Linked DNA regions of Homo sapiens: all the other regions are linked to region 1. Evidence: promoter capture Hi-C in 16 types of primary human blood cells and fetal thymus (Javierre and others, 2016). All regions are on one chromosome and are shown on one strand. Each heading gives the region's core, a stretch centred on a gene start or on the middle of the fragment in contact. The rest is flanking DNA. Distances are from core to core; before and after follow the strand shown.

What was found. The method cuts DNA at HindIII sites, captures the fragments that hold promoters and counts their contacts. A CHiCAGO score of 5 or more calls a contact.
Region 2: a fragment that was not itself captured here is called in contact with the fragment with the promoter of MAP2K6 in region 1 in 1 of 17 cell types (fetal thymus); the score reaches 5.2 in fetal thymus.
Region 3: the fragment with the promoter of KPNA2 here is called in contact with the fragment with the promoter of MAP2K6 in region 1 in 1 of 17 cell types (monocytes); the score reaches 11.4 in monocytes.

Annotation. Positions count from the first base shown.
Region 1 is chr17:69,413,397-69,416,096 of GRCh38, forward strand. MAP2K6 (mitogen-activated protein kinase kinase 6) reads left to right here and starts at 1,301. Exons shown (of 12, transcript NM_002758.4): 1 at 1,301-1,604. The coding sequence starts at 1,589. The HindIII fragment of the contact is 8,167 bases long and covers 1-2,700 here.
Region 2 is chr17:70,542,178-70,544,877 of GRCh38, forward strand. No RefSeq gene overlaps it. Among named protein-coding and RNA genes, the nearest start is that of KCNJ2, 370 kb to the left of the region's middle. The HindIII fragment of the contact is 1,077 bases long and covers 862-1,938 here.
Region 3 is chr17:68,034,321-68,037,020 of GRCh38, forward strand. It overlaps KPNA2 (karyopherin subunit alpha 2), which reads left to right and starts at 1,415. Exons shown (of 11, transcript NM_002266.4): 1 at 1,415-1,520. RefSeq lists a silencer at 1,148-1,197 and enhancers at 1,161-1,708, 1,728-1,947. The HindIII fragment of the contact is 7,979 bases long and covers 1-2,355 here.

The sequences.
Region 1 (2,700 bases), core at 51-2,550:
AGTATAAGTCCGAGCTCATTTTTGCCCATGCCCTGCTCACTCCTCTCCATTCCTTGCAGTGAATTGTGCTAAGCATCTCTGGCTTCCTTGTGAAAAAGGTGATGCCGTTCTCCATCAGGGTGCTGTGTACCCACTATGTGTGAGCGGTACAGAATGAATGAACATCCCAGGGCCCTAGAAAGGCGCCTGGCACATCCTGGACACTCAACAAGTATCTTTTAATTTTAATGAATAAATTCAAGATATTCGACTGTATTCATTTTCCACCCACTTTCCCCCTAGGCCAGGGACTCTCCTCCCAGGTGAGAAAAAATCATCTAGATACCTTAATTTTGATAAAGTTAGCGTTGATGTATAAAAAGCAGAACTTCCTCTGTAACCCTGTGAGAAATGAGAAGCCTCCAATCTTCTTCCCCACACCTACCCCCTACTGAGTTTCGGGTTCCTTGGAAATAACTGACCTGGATTGTTTCTGACAAAATAAAACTTTGCATCTTCTCCACAGAGCAAAGGTAACCTTACCTCCAGCCAACCCAATCATCCATACATTTTTCTTACTAGAAAAAATGTTTTTAAAAATGGAGGTGTGGCCGGGCGCGGTGGCTCACGCCTGTAATCCCAGCACTTTGGGAGGCCGAGGTGGGCGGATCATAAGGTCAGGAGTTCGAGACCAGCCTGGCTAAATGTTGACACCCCGTCTCTACTAAAAATTAGCCGGGCGTGGTGGCGCATACCTGTAATCCCAGCTACTTGGGAGGCTAAGGCAGGAGAATTGCTTGAACCCGGGAGGCGGAGGTTGCAGTGAGCAGAGATCGCGCCACTGCACTCCAGCCTGGGCGACAGAGCGAGACTCCCTCTCGGGAAAAAAACAACAACAACAACAACAAAAAAACCCCCAAACAAACAAAAAACGGAGGTGTGAGGGTAAAACGTCTACAGGCAAGAACAGCACAACAGGTGCTGAGCTGCAAAATCAACACACTAAACTCCCAAACAGACCTTCTCGACAAGCCAAAAGCTCTTTAGCTAACCTAATATTCTTTAGCTGTTGTTTCAGAGGCTTTTCGAGAACAAAACTGCCGCCCCGTCTTGGCCTTGCCGCTTTTCACCCATCACTCTACTGAGTGTGTGTCTGACTTGTTTATCTGGACGCAATCTTTGTCGCACCCAGTTATCTCGCTCAGCGACCGGGGCGACCACGTTTCCTTAAATCAGAGCCCCGTGGACTCCGCCGGAGAACTACATTACCCAGCGGCCTTCGCGCCCTTCGCAGGAAGGACGTCTGCGCACTAAGATACTCAGTTCCAAGTTTGGAGCTTTTAGCTGCCAGCCCTGGCCCATCATGTAGCTGCAGCACAGCCTTCCCTAACGTTGCAACTGGGGGAAAAATCACTTTCCAGTCTGTTTTGCAAGGTGTGCATTTCCATCTTGATTCCCTGAAAGTCCATCTGCTGCATCGGTCAAGAGAAACTCCACTTGCATGAAGATTGCACGCCTGCAGCTTGCATCTTTGTTGCAAAACTAGCTACAGAAGAGAAGCAAGGCAAAGTCTTTTGTGCTCCCCTCCCCCATCAAAGGAAAGGGGAAAATGTCTCAGTCGAAAGGTAAGAGGCTGTTTGCATTAGTTGCAAAAATGCAAAGGGTTGTGCATGCATTTATGAATGCATGGATGCAATTTTCGCCTGGCGAGTGCATTTTTAAGTTTGAGGTTTTCCACAGCTCAGTTGCATTTCCTGTTTAGTATGTGTCTTTTTTTGCAGACACAGAGAGTTCCTGTAAGGCAGGGCTTGCAGTTCAGCTGTGCATTGACGTTATTTGCATTCTTCTGCTAGGATTACTGAGCTCTTTTTGCCTTTTGCACAGTCAGGAGAGACAGAGCAGGTTGGTAGCGTCTAAATGTGCAAGGCTTTATATAATTGTAAAATTCTTTACTATGCACAGATATTGTAAGTAATTTTGTATGCAACAGGAATAGAAACTTTTAAAAACTCTATAGGTGAAGATGAAAGGTAAAACTTGAGTTAAACTACTAGGAAATTAATGTAATCTTATATTCTTTGGGGGAAATAGACCGTTGCGGTGCCAGTATTTAGCTAAATTTCCATTGATATCGCCTTGAACATTAGGTAACTTTTGATTTTTAAAGGAAGTAAAGGTGAAGGGTGAATAACAGCATATCACAAAAAAGCAGACGAGTCTTGCTCTTCTGAGATTTTGCACTTTACACCAATTGCTTATTGGCTCGCAAAATTTAGAAGCAGCAGTGAAGACCTAATGTTTTATGTCTGCCCATTTGGGGGATGCTTTGCATCTTGGGGGAAAATATTGGGGGTAAAACTGTACTTTTAAGCATTACAGTAGTGTGAAGGGACTGCACTGTTTCATTGACAAGCATAATGAAATATTTTAAGTGTGTAACTGCGTGTATTTAGTCAGCTGTAATAGGTTGGAAGTTCACGTTATGGTTGTTTTCTTTATGTTCTTTTATTTTCTTTTCTTAATTTTTGTTTTTAAACACAGTTGTATTTTGCAGGCTTAATGTCACCCTGGGAAGGGGATTTAAAAAATTCCTGATATGACATCAAAGAGCAGACTAGGTGCTGTCAGGTGCCCCTGGGACCCCAAGTCACTTGTTTCAGAACAATTGTTTCTTTACCATAGAGAAAGCATATGCCATATGAGAAGTATGGGATGATGAAG
Region 2 (2,700 bases), core at 150-2,649, 1.1 Mb after region 1:
GTTGCAATTAAGAACCTGGCTAAAACCCACCAAAACCAAAATGGTCACGAGAGTGACCTCTGGTCATCCTCACTGCTACACTCCCACCAGTGCTGTGACAGTTTACACATGCCAAGGCAACATCAGGAAGTTACCCTATATGGTCTAAAAAGGGGAGGCATGAATACTCCACCCCTTGTTTAGCATGTCATCAAGGAATAACCATAAAAATAAGAAACCAGCAGCCCTTGGGTCTGCTGTGTCTATGGAGTAGCCATTCTTTTATTCCTTTACTTTCTTAATAAACTTGCGTTCACTTTACTCTCTGGATTCTCCCTGAATTCGTCTTTCTTGAGCGAAAGCCAAGACCCTCTCTTGGGATCTGGATTGGGACCCCTTTCCTGTAACAATTGTGTCCTATTACATTCAGCCAATTTAGCAAATTGATTTATGATTCTTACATATCCATAGGATAAGTATGTGGATTATCTTCATTTTGTTACTGATGAGAAAATGGACACTTAAAGAAATTCAGTGACTTTCCAGGGTTACATACCATCTGACTAAATGGCAAAACTGAAATCAAGCCCAAATACACTCTACCTCCTCTCACAAATTTTGGAAACATTTAATCCAATCCTTAAATCAACAGAGGATCAAACTGAGGCGCAGGGATTGCTGAAATAGACAAGGAGTAACAAAGTTTGCCCCGTTAGAGCCAAATGATGAGCTTCTGGCCTTTTGAAAAGTTTAGTTGTAAAATAGTCCCTATGAGTAGGAAGGAAGACACATTTTTATTTAGTTTTATGTAAATGGTGCGAGACAAATTCAGCCTTGCCTAAGGCAACTGAAAAACCATCTTTGAGTGAATTATTCCTTTGAAGCTTTATCTTCAAAAGGCACTGCTACTCTTTAACTTTGGCAGGAAAGGGGAACACCTGCAGCACCGTTGCATAAATTGGCTTCGTTGGACCTCCTTCATCAGCCAGAGCTGGAGACCTACGTGGGTTATAATGTCTGGAAAGGGCAAGGTGGTGGCCTGAGTAGTCTGAAGTCTGTTATTCTGGTAATGGTTCCCTACTTAGGGTATTTCTAACTATGAATCAGGCCTTCAGGAGAAATATTACTAACTGGAAATATTGAGGGACGTGGAGACAAGATGTGAGCCTACAGCACAGCTTTCCTTCCAGTGCGTATGGTACATAGGATGCCCAAGTGCGGGTTCAAATATGCTGAGATGTTGATTCGCTCAGCCCTTGGGATGGATCTTGCAATGAGACTTGCTCAGTCTCATTTGTTTTTCCCGAGTACAGGGTACCATGTACCTAAAATCGTTTGCTTGTTACTCTGGGATATCATGGGAAGCCCTGGCCTAGGGCATCTAGAACTACATGCAGCTAGCATGTGGAGGACTGAAAGAATTCTCTGAACCGAAGAGCATGTGATTTGGAATTTTTAAACATAGTTTCTGTAAATATAGATGGAGTCTTCCCTGCACATATAAGGCATATCCCGTGGATCCAAAGGGGTAACTATGTGATTTGACAGCAAAAGTGGATGTGATCCACAAAGCAGAGAAATACGGAGCCAGGTCCACCTTGGAAAAACAGGAACACATATCCACACTCAGTACGCATCCTCTCTCATCTCACGACTCTCATCCCAGTCAGAGTTGTCTGAATGGACAGGATTACTGGCAAATATTTGCTATGATGAAGATTTTTTTCCCATGATTGCTAATATTTTATGCCTCAATCCCCCATTCCTCCCCACCCCAGCAAACCAAGTCCTTCATGATGTTTCCATGGCTCTTGCAGTTCCTAGACAATCTGTTTGGCTTCCCCATCCAAGATTTTTGGAGTGGAACACTGGAATATAGGATAGCATCACAAGTTAGTCAAGAAAGTCAATAGGAAGTGATGTTTATAGCTGGGATAAGATGTCCTTTTAGGCCACTTAAGCTTTGTACATGGACCTGCACTGTGTGTATTTCATAGAACAGCTAGGTAGCATTTCCCATGTCGTGTCTACCACATGTTGGATGTCAGGGTGGGTTGAAATGCTTTGGATCAGTATTTGTCAAATTATGATCTGTCGACTACCATCTTCTAGGACTAATACATTAAATATATTTTAAAAAATTGGAGTTATATGTTTAAGTAATGGTCAGGATTAATTCTAGGGATAGAAAGTTCTAGGGATAAATATTCAAGACTAAGTAGCTGAGAGACACAATCAAGAACAGAATTTTTTTCTTTATTTTTTTAAACTACACTATGTTTTGTGTGTTGGCTTCTCTACATTTCCCTCATGGTTACTAGATGATTGTTATGTCTCTATGACTGCATCTTCCTTCCAGAGAGGAGAAAAGAGGAAGTAAAAAGGGGTTAAAAGTCATGTTAGTGGAGTCTTTCCCTTTTATGAGAAAAACAAAAAACATTCCTAGGAACTTTCCTCTTAAGTCGCACTAGACAGGATTTAGTCACATGGCTACCATCAATACATCTTTGGAAAAGGGTAACAAGATTACCACAACTAGTCATGGCCAGGGTGACCACCTGCCTATCAAAGATTTCTGTTTCTTTTTCATGGTGTAGAATGGTTGCTAAGAAGGCACACTTCCAAGCCTTTCTTTTTTTTTTTTTTTTTTTTAATTTTTTTTTTTTTTATTATACTCTAAGTTTTAGGGTACATGTGCACATTGTGCAGGTTAGTTACATA
Region 3 (2,700 bases), core at 165-2,664, 1.4 Mb before region 1:
AGAGAATGCCACACAGTGATTGGTTTAGGGGTGAATTCCTTCCACATTCTTGCATTTAGGGGGATGGGATTATGCTGATTAAGAGTAGGTCCAACCCTTTATGAACTCTGGCTTTACGATGAATGAGGCTGGCATTAATGCCTGCAAAAATGGACAAACTTGCTGTTTGAATTTATTTATAGTAAGAAATAAACCATGAAAACTTTTCTAAAATGTAATCTTTTAGAACACAAAAAAATTGCAGAAACAAAAATGGCCCAGAATCCTGATGCTCTGTTGACCATCTTTGTTTTGTTTGTTCGTTTGAGCATATGGCAAAAAATGCAAAATTCAGAAATGTGTAATGAGCATAGAATGTTACTATAACAATTGAAAAAACTTGAACACACACTACATACTAAACAACAGCATGAAATTTCAGTTTTTCTGAATTTGATGACTGCAGTGTGGTTATATAAGAGAATGTCTTTTCTTAGGAGAGACACCGTGAAACAGAGGAAAAAGGACATGATTCTGAAACTTTCTCTTAAAGTAACATATTAAAATCACACATATGTACACGCGTGCATATGTATACATATATATGTATAGAGAAAGCAATAGCAAATGTGGCAAAATGTTAAGATTTGGCAAATCTGGATAAAGATTTGCAATTCTGCTGCATTTGAAATTATTTAAAAATAAAAAACTTGAGTTTTTGGAGAAACAGGCATAAGAAACCTTTTGTTTCCATATTTGCGGCTTCTATACAGTCTTTTATGATGCAATTAAAAAAAAACTAAACTAAAAAATATAACACAAATCTTCCCTCCCATAGTAGCCAGAAACCCCCGCCGAGTACTTTGGGTGTCATAATAGGAAAAAAATGCAAAGCAATATGTTTTTCTATAAAGATTACTTATTTACTAATTAGAATTTTTTTATTTTCATGAAGATCAACAACAAAGTTTTTAAAATAATGACTTAGAGAATCATTTTGTGGTATTTGTTTAAGGCTGTCGCCCAGGAAAACGCCCAAGGACCATGCACGCTTCAACCCTATGGAAACACGAACGGCCCAGGGAACCGCCCCTTCGCGCTGCTTGACGGGATCTGGAGTCCTCCCGCTCCGCCCCGCCAGGCGCTCAGGGACCGCCCGGCCGCTCCCTCACCGCCCGGCCGCTCCCTCACCGCCCGGCCGCTCCCTCACCGCCCGGCCGCTCCCTCACCGCCCGGCCGCTCCCTCATCTCGCGATGCCATCCTCTTTTTTTTTTTTTCTTTCCCCCCTCCCACTCGCCCCCAAGCCCTATGACTCCCTCCCCTCCCAACGTGTTTTTCAAATCCACCAATGGGCACACAGCTTAGGCTCGAACCAGCCAATCGGAATGCGGAGTCACCGGGAAATTTAAATCGCGCCGGCCGGCTGCACGAGCCACACGGTCTTTGAGCTGAGTCGAGGTGGACCCTTTGAACGCAGTCGCCCTACAGCCGCTGATTCCCCCCGCATCGCCTCCCGTGGAAGCCCAGGCCCGCTTCGCAGGTACAGACTCAGGCGGCGGCCCGGCCCGAGCGCTAACGGCTTGCCCGTGGGCGGCGTTCGCCTTTTGGGTTGGGGGAGGGAGGCCCCGGGTCCACGCCGAGCCTGGCTCTGCCTCCCGCGTTGACTAGGCCTCGGGGGCGACGTTCATTGACCAGGCGGCTGAGTTTCGCGGGGTCTGCGGGTTTAGGGCGCCGACGCTCTGCAAACGGCAGCGGAGGCCTTAACGCGTCGCGGCCGGGAGAATCGGAGCGAGCCAGGCTTGAGGGCGAATGTCCCGGGAGGACTTGTGGCGGCCCTGGTTTCGCCTCCTCCTTTCTCGTTGCATCTTCCCCGGCGTGGGGGCAGGGGCTGGGGGTGGCAGTTGGGAGCACCGTCTCTGACACCTAGGCCCCGGGGGTGGCTCTGCCACCAAGTCGTAGGCGAGCGTAATGAAAGCAAAGATAGCAAATTGTAAGGAGGGCTTTGACTTTTGTCATCTTCTGAATGACGCACAGCTGATGTCATCCTAATTAAGCGCATTCACTCCTAGTCTCTGGAAATGCAAATCAAATATGCGAGATGCGGCACTGCATTTTTAATGTTGACCATAATGTAATGATGAAGCAAATTTTTATTTAATTTTCGAGTCTGCACCTATTTTGGCCAAGTAAAGACAGTAAAATAGGGAGAGCCTCCTGAGGATCTGAATTTATTGCCCTGGCACATAATTTTTAGCTGTAAGTTGACTTGGTTCCCCTACTTTGTCTTGAATTAACTATTAGGGACTCTGGAGTATCGAACTAGGCTGTCAGAAACGGTGGATACATGTGGCTAGTCCAAATTGAAATACGCTGTAAGCTTAAAGTACACAAAAGATTTCAAAGATGGAGTATGGAAAAAGAATGTAGAAGATGTCAGTTATTTTATATATTGATAACACGTTGAAATACTATTTGGATATGTTGGGTTAAGTAAAATACATTATTAAAATTAGTTTCACTTGTTTCTTTTCTCCTTTTTAAAAATATGGCTACTAGGAAGTTTCAATTTATATAGCTTGCATTCTATTTCTGATGGAGAGCCCTCTCCAGGAAGTCTCAGCCCTTTAGAGGGAAGGGGGACACTTCCCCTTTGGGTAAAGCTATTTCATAGTGCCGAAAACATGATGATCCCCCCTCTAGTATACAGGTGTGGATTCAGT